Linked DNA regions of Homo sapiens: region 1 is linked to region 2. Evidence: promoter capture Hi-C in 16 types of primary human blood cells and fetal thymus (Javierre and others, 2016). All regions are on one chromosome and are shown on one strand. Each heading gives the region's core, a stretch centred on a gene start or on the middle of the fragment in contact. The rest is flanking DNA. Distances are from core to core; before and after follow the strand shown. Region 1 overlaps DLD (dihydrolipoamide dehydrogenase). Region 2 holds the start of LAMB4 (laminin subunit beta 4).

Evidence for each region. The method cuts DNA at HindIII sites, captures the fragments that hold promoters and counts their contacts. A CHiCAGO score of 5 or more calls a contact.
Region 1: a fragment that was not itself captured here is called in contact with the fragment with the promoter of LAMB4 in region 2 in 1 of 17 cell types (endothelial precursors); the score reaches 5.9 in endothelial precursors.

Annotation. Positions count from the first base shown.
Region 1 is chr7:107,917,715-107,922,898 of GRCh38, reverse strand. DLD (dihydrolipoamide dehydrogenase) reads right to left here. Exons shown (of 14, transcript NM_000108.5): 12 at 4,838-4,975; 13 at 3,800-3,889; 14 at 1,701-3,705. The coding sequence ends at 3,640. Among named protein-coding and RNA genes, the nearest start is that of DLD, 29 kb to the right of the region's middle. RefSeq lists an enhancer at 4,447-4,846. The HindIII fragment of the contact is 276 bases long and covers 3,695-3,970 here.
Region 2 is chr7:108,127,859-108,133,273 of GRCh38, reverse strand. LAMB4 (laminin subunit beta 4) reads left to right here and starts at 2,913. Exons shown (of 34, transcript NM_007356.3): 1 at 2,913-2,968. The HindIII fragment of the contact is 5,422 bases long and covers 2,036-5,415 here.

The sequences.
Region 1 (5,184 bases), core at 2,583-5,082, 210 kb after region 2:
ACATCTACAACAATCTGATCTTTGACAAACCTGACACAAGCAGTAGGGAAAGGATTCCCTATTTAATAAATGGTGTTGGGAAAACTGGCTAGCCATATGCAGAAAGCTGAAACTGGATCCCTTCCTTACACCTTATACAAACATTAACTCAAGATGGATTGAAGACTTAAACGTAAGACCTAAAACCATAAAAACCCTAGGCAATTACCATTCAGGACATAGGCATGGGCAAAGACTTCATGACTGAAACACCAAAAGCAATGGCAACAAAAGCCAAAATTGACAAACGGGATCTAATTAAAGAGCTTCTGCACAGCAAAAGAAACTATCATCAGAGTGAACAGGCAACCTAGAGAATGGGAGAAAATTTTTGCAAAGAACTTCAAACCCATCAAAAAGTTGGTGAAGGATATGAACAGACACTTCTCAAAAGAAGACATGCATGCAGCCAACAAACATGAAAAAAAGCTCATCATCACTGTTCAATAGAGAAATGCAAATCAAAACCACAATGAGATACCATCTCATGCCAGTTAGAATGACAATCATTAAAAAGTCAGCAAACAACAGATGCTGGAGAGGCTGTGGAGAAATAGGAACACTTTTACACTGTTAGTGGGAGTGTAAATTAGTTCAACCATTGTGGAAGACAGTGTGGCAATTCCTCAAGGATCTAGAACTAGAAATACCATTTGACCCAGCAATGCTATTACTGGGTATATACCCGAAGGATTATAAATCATTCTACTATAAAGACACATGCACATGTATGTTTATTGAGGCACTGTTCACAATAGCAAAGACTTGGAACCAACCCAAATGCCCATCTATGACAGAATGGATAAAGAAAATGTGGCACATATACACCATGGAATACTATGCAGCCATAATAAAGGATGAGTTCACATCCTTTGCAGGGACATGGATGAAGCTGGAAACCATCGTTCTCAGCAAACTAACACAAAAATAGAAAACCAAACACCACATGTTCTCACTTGTAAGTGGGAGGTGAACAATGAAAACACATGGACAAGGGGATGGGGGTGGGGGAGGGATAGCATTAAGAGAAATACCTAATGTAGATGATGGGTTGATGGGTGCAGCAAACCACCATGGCACATGTATACCTATGTAACAAACCTGCATGTTCTGCACATGTACCCCAGAACTTAATTAAAAAAAAAAATCCCAATAACTAGCAAAAATGGTCATACCCCATCATCTACTAGAGCAATTATGTAGTATTTTACTTAGAACAGTAGAAACACTCTCCATTCCTTTTCAGCTAAACAACTAAAGATCTCACTTTGAAATTACTTTTTTTTTTTTTTTGAGACGGAGTTTCGCTCTGTCGCCAGGCTAGAATGCAGTGGCATGATCTCAGCTCACCGCCTCCTGGGTTCAAGTGATTCTGCCTCAGCCTCCTGAGTAGTTGGGATTACAGGGGCCTGCCACCACACCTGGCTAATTTTTATATTTTTAGTAGAGATGGGGTTTTACCACATTGGTCAGGTTGGTCTCAAACTCCTGACCGCAGGTGATCTGCCCGCCCCGGCCTCCCAAAGTGCTGGGATTACAGGAGTGAGCCACCGCTCCCAGCCAGTTGAAATTACTAATTTTAATCAGTTCAATGAAGTGGACAATTAATTTCACTCTTCACAAGCCACAAAAATATTGACAGCTTAGTAGATAACAGTAAGTGAACACTTAAAACTTGTTTTATTCCTAGGACTTTATTCCCCATACAGATAAATTTGCATTCTCATACTGAATGTAAACACTTAAAGATGGATTTAACTCTACAGCTAGAATTCCATATTAAATTATATTTCACTATTCCCTAACTAAAAACTTTTTTTTCCCTGAGTAAGGGATATGTTGAGATTTACATAAACAGCACTTCACATGATACCGGGATTTCAAATTTTTAAAAAGATGCAGAGTTCACTTCCAATAATGGCAAAGTAGCACACAGATATCAGACCAACCCTCCTGCTGATAGCAACTGCAAACTCTGAACAAATATATTTTAGAAAAAACTAAAGGCACTGGAAACAACTATAAACAAGTGGAAAGTAGAGGGAAGTTGGCACTTAAAAAGTGAACAGCACTGGCTCAATGTCTCATTTTTAACGGGTTCTCACTTGAGGGGGAAACAAAAGCCAAGTTTTATTGGTTAAGGATCAGAAGGCAGAATATGGGGCAACCACAACAGCTGGAACATAAAGGGGAAACCCCCAAAAAACAGGAGGCACAGAAGGGGCAGACTTCCTTCTGCCCAAACTCTGGTTGACCCCTGAACTACACACTTGCATGGGAAAGACTTCCAGCAGCATAGCTAAAGCTAAAACAACTGAGAAGAGATTTCAGCTGCTGCCACCTACAAACAAGACAGAGTGTGGAGTTGGTGTTCAGCCAAGTTAACTGCCTCCTAAGACAACAATCAATTTTCTTTAGAAGTATGTAACAGAATCCAGGGTCATTATGTCACTCATGAGCATGAGACAATCTATGCTATCTATACCAAATTTCAGAACTACTTAATCTGAATTATTCTTAAATTTAGTTACAATATGCAAAAGCCTACTTAGCATTTAGTACTTTGTTACTTAAGTTTCCTCAGGACATGGCCATTTTAAACACCACACATCCAATTTTACAACACTCTTTAAATAAACAGTCATTAACCCAGCCAAGGAAAACACAGATTAAAGACTCCCTTATGTTGTACTTCTCCAAAAGTATATATTAAACATTTAGTAGGTGTATCTAAAATAGATGAAAGGATGATGACCTTTAAAATGCCTTAATATTGTCCTATAACATGAAAATAAAGATACATTCAGGCCTAGAAAAGAAATTAGAATATACACTAGAAGTAGTCATAAAAAAAACTATGACCATCTCAACACGTACTCATGATAACCAGTAAATGAATATTTAAGACGTTTATTTCAGTATCTTCATTCCCCACTGTAATACATTTGAATGCCCACGTATTTGAGTTCCGTAAATAGACTCTCTTAATTTGGGTAACTATATAATTACCCTTCAGAGTTGCAGACAACAATGGAAGCTTTAAAACCTCTTCAACACAAATGCTACCCCTAAAATGAAAGAATTTAGAGGTTAAATAAAACAAGTGAGAGACCGTTTACTTACATCAGTTCGGTTTATAGACATTTGAATCATATCTGAATGACTGACTTGTTTCCAATGTGAAAACCAAATTAAAAATAACTTGATCACTGTGCTTCAAACACAACTGTTCACATATCAAATTCTAGCTCCAGCCATGTAAAATTCAACTTTTCTGTATCAGAGAAAAAAGCTATTTAAATTCAGGGGCATTGAATCTTTCATGAACAGCATGAAAATATGAGTTGACGGAGATATTCCAGGATGCTACAATAAGTAGCTTTTTGTCTTACACATTAGTGCACTGAAACAAAATACTAAATTTATGTAAAATATAGATATAAGAGTATTCCATTTTGTCCAAACCTATTAAATACCTTCCAAAAGTTTCATAATTCAGTCCTAGAAATTCTTGGAGCTGTGAGAATATCCTGTTCAGGAATGTGACTTCTACAAAAGCTCCCAGGAAATTTCAGAAAAAAATATATATAATCTTCTAATTCAAAAGTTGATTGATTTGCCAAATGACGCAGCAAGATTTGCTTCTCTAAAAGCTTCTGATAAGGTCTGCAAGGGAAGAAATTTAAAATTAAAATCCAAATATTTGTGGGTCAGAAGAAAATTTAGGCAACCATCAATTCTATATGTTGTTAATAATTACCGGATGTGCATGACAGACTCTAGCTATATCTTCACAGGATGCTCCATATTCCAAAGCAAGAGCAGCTTCATTTACCATTTCTCCAGCACCCTTTAAAATAACAAGCCAAGTAAATTTGCTTCCAAGGCAAAAACTACATGCTAATAGGATAGCAATTGTTGAGGGGAAGCTTTTAGATCTTAAAAACGCCTTAAATCTGTTTCTTTATCAGTTGAAGAAAAGTCAGGAAAAGCTTAATAGAAAAGGTGACACAGAAGAGCTTGGGCTCTGGAGCCAAAGGGCCTTCAATTCATATCTACCACTTACTACCTTAACCATTCATTGGTTCTTTGTGCTTCATTCAGTTTCTTCACCTCAAAAATAACAGCACCTATTTCAAAAAGCTGATGTAAAAATAACAAAATGTATACTAAAGTGACACAGCACTCAAATATTCTATTCTCATTATTGTTACATCAGATACAAGAGATATCTACAAGAAAGATACATACTTTAGGCTCAGTGGTAGGAAAGGCTTCCCTTAGGAGGTAACATTTGAGCTGAGACCTGAATAATAAGGAGCCAGCCATTCAAAGATCTGGAGGCAGAACAGTCTAAGCAGAGGGTATCTTAAGCACAAAGGCCCTAAAATGCAAATATTTGGTCTGTTGTGAAAATGAGAGAAGGCCCATGTGACATGGCATTAATGAGTAAAAGAGAGCAGAAAAAGAAGAGGTCAGAGAAGTAGGCACAAACAGATTCAGTGAGGCCTTGGATGTAACAATCTGAAGTTGAAAAGCACCACTGGAGGATTTTAAGGGGCATAATCTGGTGTATGTTTTAAAGAGAGAATCTTGGCTGCAGGACAAAGTAGATGATACAGTGGGCAAGACTGTGAGAGTGCTGCTGGTATCCTTCTAGAAATGATGCACAGAGAGCCATATTCAAAGTTTTGCTGGAAATGAGCAACCTCAGACTAACACCAGGTGGTTTATAATTAATAAACAGCAATGCTTTCTAGAAATCTTAATGGGATTTCTCTGGTTTTACAATACTCACTGGTCCAAGAATATGTGCTCCCAGTACTCTGTCTGTCGATTTCTGCCCAAGGATCTTCACCATGCCATCTGTGTCAGCATTTGTCTTAGCTCTGCTGTTAGCAGCAAATGGGAATTTCCCAACTTTGTACTCAATACCCTGTGACAGTCAGAAAAAAAGAATCTACGTAACTGCCAGAAAAGTTCTTTCCAATTTGTAAAATCATCTACCATTTGTTCAGAAAATAAATCCCAAGAAGGGAATTGTTCGCAAAGCACATAGAAGGAAAGGAAAGACCAGAAGACTGGTTAATGAACTATATCTCAGGCACGAATACAAGCAAATACAAATGTCTGTCCATCTGGTTA
Region 2 (5,415 bases), core at 1,664-4,163:
AAATGTTGCAATGTATTTTTAGATTGTTGCAGGGATTATAAGAACAATCAATGGACCTGAGTCTCCTCTCCTCCTCTCTCCTAAATGCCCTGCGAGCTCCATCTACCTCAGTCTCTGTAATTAGAGCACGCCAAGGCAGATTCTGAGGTGGAAGATGCCAGGATAACCTCAGGCCCAGGCCACTGCAGGCTGGATGGGTCTTCCTGTTAGGGGAAGAACTGGGAGAGTTGGTTATAAGAGAAGCCAAATGGTAAGTCCATTGGGGTTCTCTCCAGGTGCCAATGAGCCCTCTGTCTGGGGTCACTCTGAGACAATACAAAGGGGGTTGACAAGGGTTCTGTCAGGGAGGGTTTTGCCACTTCCTCGCTGCCTGAGGGCGTTGTAGGCAGTCCGCTCCCTTCTGTCCTTTCAGAGCTTTGGCAGAGTACGTCAGCTGCCTCAAGCCCTGGGATCTTAGCTTCATTCAGGTTCACTGAATCTAATTAAAGGCTGATTAGCTGTTTCAAGGTTTTCTGTGACTGAGTAATCCTCCACACTTCCTGTCAGGACTTGCAAGCCTCGCTGTGCCCAGTGAAGACTCCTTAGCCCTCATGGAATCCCGACTGTGGGCAAGTCTTTTTAGGAACAACCTCCTCAGCCCTGCAGTTAGGTGGGCCACCGCGCGGGAATGACGGGCAAGGCCACAGCGAGAGAAGGCTCACCAAGCAGTTCTGGTTGAGATGAGGCTGCGCCAGGAATTTCTTCCCAGGCTGACTTCTGAGGAAATACCTCGTCTTAAGGAAGAGATGAAATATTCACCTCTCTCACATTTAACTTTAGTTCAACCGAAGGCATTAACATGTATACTTGCAACAAATGAATTCTGATAGGTCAATTTTACCTAATGGAATCTGTTGGTTTTTAAGGTTCTGTGACTGAAGAAATAGAGACTAAAGAAAAATTACAGGCGTATATAGACTAAAGAAAAGAACCAGAGAATGAGGAGGAGGGATCTGGAAAGATAGTTACCAAAAAATTTGAGGCTTTCAAGGATTTTTACTTTCTTTTTCCTTTGAATTTTTATATTGTCCGATTTTGGGTAAAAGAGCATATACTACTCTCCAGGAAAAGCAATAAAGCTATTTTCCTTTTAATAAAAAAGATATCAACACTTTAAGGAGAGCTATACTGAAAGACTGCTTCTGATTAACTGATAGACTGATCTTTTAGTTGCATGGGAAAATTATTTTTCTTGAAAATATATCCTGCCTGACAGCTTCTAACTCTACACCTAATCTTAAGAGGTAAATAGTTAACTCATTGAGATGAAAGCAGATACCCCAAGACATGCCATCAGTTTACAGGAAAACAGCCTACGATAACCTATTCATGATTATTTAAAGGGAAATTTTTGAAATTTGAACCATGTAACTTTGATTCTCGTCATAAAACTGGAGACACATATAACAGGAAAACCCCTCAAGATATAATCAAATCACTCAAGAATGCAACAAGCTTTTAAAATTTACATATCTCAAAAGGCAAAAAAGACAATATGAAATTCCAATGTTTGAAATAAGTTTAAAAATTATATAAATTTTAATGCCTAGAGTTTATGCTTTGCACAATAATTTAAGAGTCTAAAGGGAAAATAGTATTGGTCTAATAAAACAGATCACAAACCCGTCAATTGAACAAACTGAAAGTCCCTTGATTTCACTCACACACTTTGCTGAAGTATCCACCTAAAAACCAAATACTGCTCTTTGGTCTCCTACCACCTGGTACTTTGTGGCAGCTGTTGGCTTGTAAAAAATAAATAAAACAAGTTAGTTTAGCAAATATTGACTGCAAGCTTCTTCTATACTTCATCCTAAAATGGAAAAGACATGTTCCTGCCCTCTTGGAGTTTGCTTTCTAGTACATCAGAAGTGAGCAGATGAACCTGACCTATAGGGAACAAAATTAAAAACAGTGGCATCGATGGAAAAATAGAGCAATAAATTAAAACACAAATAACAGGTAAGAAGCATTGAAAAATACCCTTGAAAAAGCTTAAAGGCCTGTAAGAGTGGTATTTGGTGAAAGTTTGTTGAATCTATTTCCTGATTTGTAAATGTTGTGTAAAAATGAGCATCTCATTTTGGCTCAGTTCACAATCATTTTTCTTCCCTAAGGGTATTTTCCATGAGCTTCTAGAAATCCTAAATGTTTTTTCAAGCAACCAATAAACTTACCCATTGAAACTGCACAGATTTGAAATGGAGATATTAATCCACTGACAAGTGAATAAAATGTAAGATTGCTGTAGGTTCATTTCTATACTATAAACCTTCCTCGTAGGAGAATGAAATTTCAAACCACATGGATTCCAAAACCACTTAAACTTGCCATTCCCACAATGGTTAGTTGTACTTGCCGAATCACAAGGTAAACAGAAATCTATGAGCCATTTAAGATGATCTTGAGCCAGGTAGGACTGGTCAGAGCCTTGGGAACCCATCTGAAACTATTCCACCTGGTCCGCCTGAAAGTAGATTGGGATGGAGTCAGGGGTCTCACATTCCTGAGAAACAAGCCCATCTAATTCCGCACATTTTATAGCTGGTAAGTATCAAGCTGTCTGAAAATGACCGCTAAAACATGAACCAGAAAAACATAAATAAATCAGGGAACAAAATGTCTGTGCATTATTCCTGGCTATTAAAATTGGTTTTAGAGAAAACAAGAAAAATATTTGCTGTAAAACTGAGCTCTATTTCCCTGTTTATGTGTGTGTGTGGGTGTGTGTGTGTGTATAAGTTAAAACTTAAGTGACTTCACAAATCACCTTTTTGACAGGCATTGGAATACCTCTTGTCTTTTTTTTTCCCTACTTTTAGGTGCCTCGGGGAGAATGTTTTCTACATAAACTGGCTCTAACTTTCAGGTGTGTCTTCACATGCCCCGTTTGCTGCCTGAACCTCTCCACAAAGACTCCCAGATCCTGGTAAGTCTTGCCTGCTCTCTCACTAGCAAATTGGCATTTTTATGGATTAAATGAAGGTATTAGAATTTAGGGGGTAAGTGGAGTTGTCATAAAGTAAGAAATGGGACATATTAGCACATAGATTACTATTACTTTTACAGAATGATAGTCCAATGACACTTAAATAAAGGTTCTTGCAACATAAAACAGTATCCAATGGGAAAATTGATGTTAGTGCATTGTGATATGAAGCCAACAACTTGAGCCTTACTGTACCTTGAAGGGAGCTTCAAATGATGTAGTGTTGAAATGTACAACTGTATTGTGTTTTCAGCAAATGTTTGTTTTTGTTATGGTTATAAAACTTATGACAACTTATAAAAGTTTAAATGCATTAGAACTACCCATATTTTCAAAATATTTTGTTAATGTTCTAGATATGTGTAAATATTGTTTTAAGAAAAGCAAGTCTGCTATAACTAAAAGAAACATAAACTTGGCCGGGCATGGTGGCTCATGCCTGTAATCCCAGCCCTCTGGGAGGCCGAGGCAGGCAAATTGCTTGAGCTCAGGAGGTCAAGACCAGCCTGAGCAACATGGCGAAACCCCATCTCTGTAAAAACTATACAGCCGTAGTGGCACATGCCTGTAATCCCAGCTACTCAGGAGGTTGAGATGGAAGGACTGCTTAAGCATGGGAGGTTGAGGTTGCAGTGAACCAAGAATGTGCCACTGTACTACAGCCTGGGTGACAGAGGAAGACTCTGTCTCCAAAAAAAAAAAAAAAGTAAACTTTATAGTTCTGTATTCTGCATTCCTCACTATGATGAAATTTAGGCAAAACAGTTGAAATATCTAATGAGTCCTGACATAACATGAAAAAAAGTTAGACAAAGGAAAGTTAAATACAAGATTTCTGAGAACTGTCACTTTATAGACAATTATTTGTGTACCAGAAAAAGTCTTAAGGGCTAATATAAATGTATTTATAATTATCTTCTGTGTTATAAATTACTGTCCAATTTGCAGAAGAAAGGTGCTGTAGTAGAAACAGGAGCGGAATGCATGTCTTTCCTGCGGAGAGGCTCTTATCAAACACGATGCACCTGTGGTTCTAGGAGCTGGGCAAATGGGCACCACATGGCCCTTTTCTCTTCATCTGTTTCATCCAAATTGTTTTGACAAAAAAGAGTAAACTCTTTGCAGCCTTCAAGTGAGAGCAGATGAGGCAAATATAAGTGAATGGTCAGTAAATTAAATAAATTAGCAATGCCAGAAAGTTACTTTCAGTCTAATATATTTCACTGTTTATTGCAACACTTAATACATTTTAAGACCAGTGTCATCTAGCAGCATTCATTAAACGGCTACCAAAATGCACCCAGCGCCTTTGGAAATACGTTTATACATATCTCATCCAAAGGAGGGAAAATGTTTTGTTTATTACTCCTAATCACTTTTACATATATTACTAAAACTCACTGATGAATTTAACAAGAAAAGAGTGCCATGTAGCCCCTGAGAGGCTTTCCAATGTCAGCTCTGGTAAACCAACCCGAAAAGCAGTACCAATTAAACTTATAGTTTGACGAAGGAAGGCATGCACAGGGTTACCACATTTTCTGATATTGCGCTGTATGTGCAGCTGTGGGTTTTATAATGACTGGATAGGTGATTTCAGATAACAGAACTTCTAGAAGTTGCCAGATTCATTATAATACTTATCTAGTTTGGAGCTTAGCTCTCCTAAAATGGGAAATAGAAAATGGGGAGGAAGACTAGAGGTGAGTGATTTTGGGAAATAAGGGCTGAGATGATAAGGCCCATAGCTAAGGGCACTGAAGCCACTGAGAAAGTTTCTCAAGCTCAGCGCTGTTGATATTTTAGGATGCTTAATTCTATGTTGTAGGGCCCAGAAATATTGTAGAATATTTACTTAGCAGCACCCCTGGCCTCTACACACTCAATGCCAGTAGCGTCTGTCATGCCAGAACCCTATTGACTTCAGTAGGGATGGCACCATGTTTGAGAGGCCAAAGAAGGGACTTGGAGTCAGCGAACAAGACATAGGGTTTATTGAAGGGGACTTATACACAGGGCAGACCCATGGCTGTATGTAAGGCTGCACTGGAGAACCGCTCCTGCTTGTAAAAGTCATGCAGTTCATACAGCATTTTCACTGAGCACCCTCCCTCTAACAACCTCCACCTGGCAACCTTTGTTTACAACAAAACAAAGGACCTCGATCCCCTGTATCGACCGTGTTCCATAGAATGGGCCAGGGGTTCAGATGTTCCTGATAGATAAGGAATGAATCTTCAGGTTGGCTACTCCCGGATTCCTTAGCTTGGAACTCTAAACACACATTCCTTTTAGACCACAGGTCTTTCTCAGGGTCTGCTTAAGTTATTGCTTTCAGGTGTGTCTGCCATACAGCATCTTCCTCTCATTATGACAGCCAAAAATGT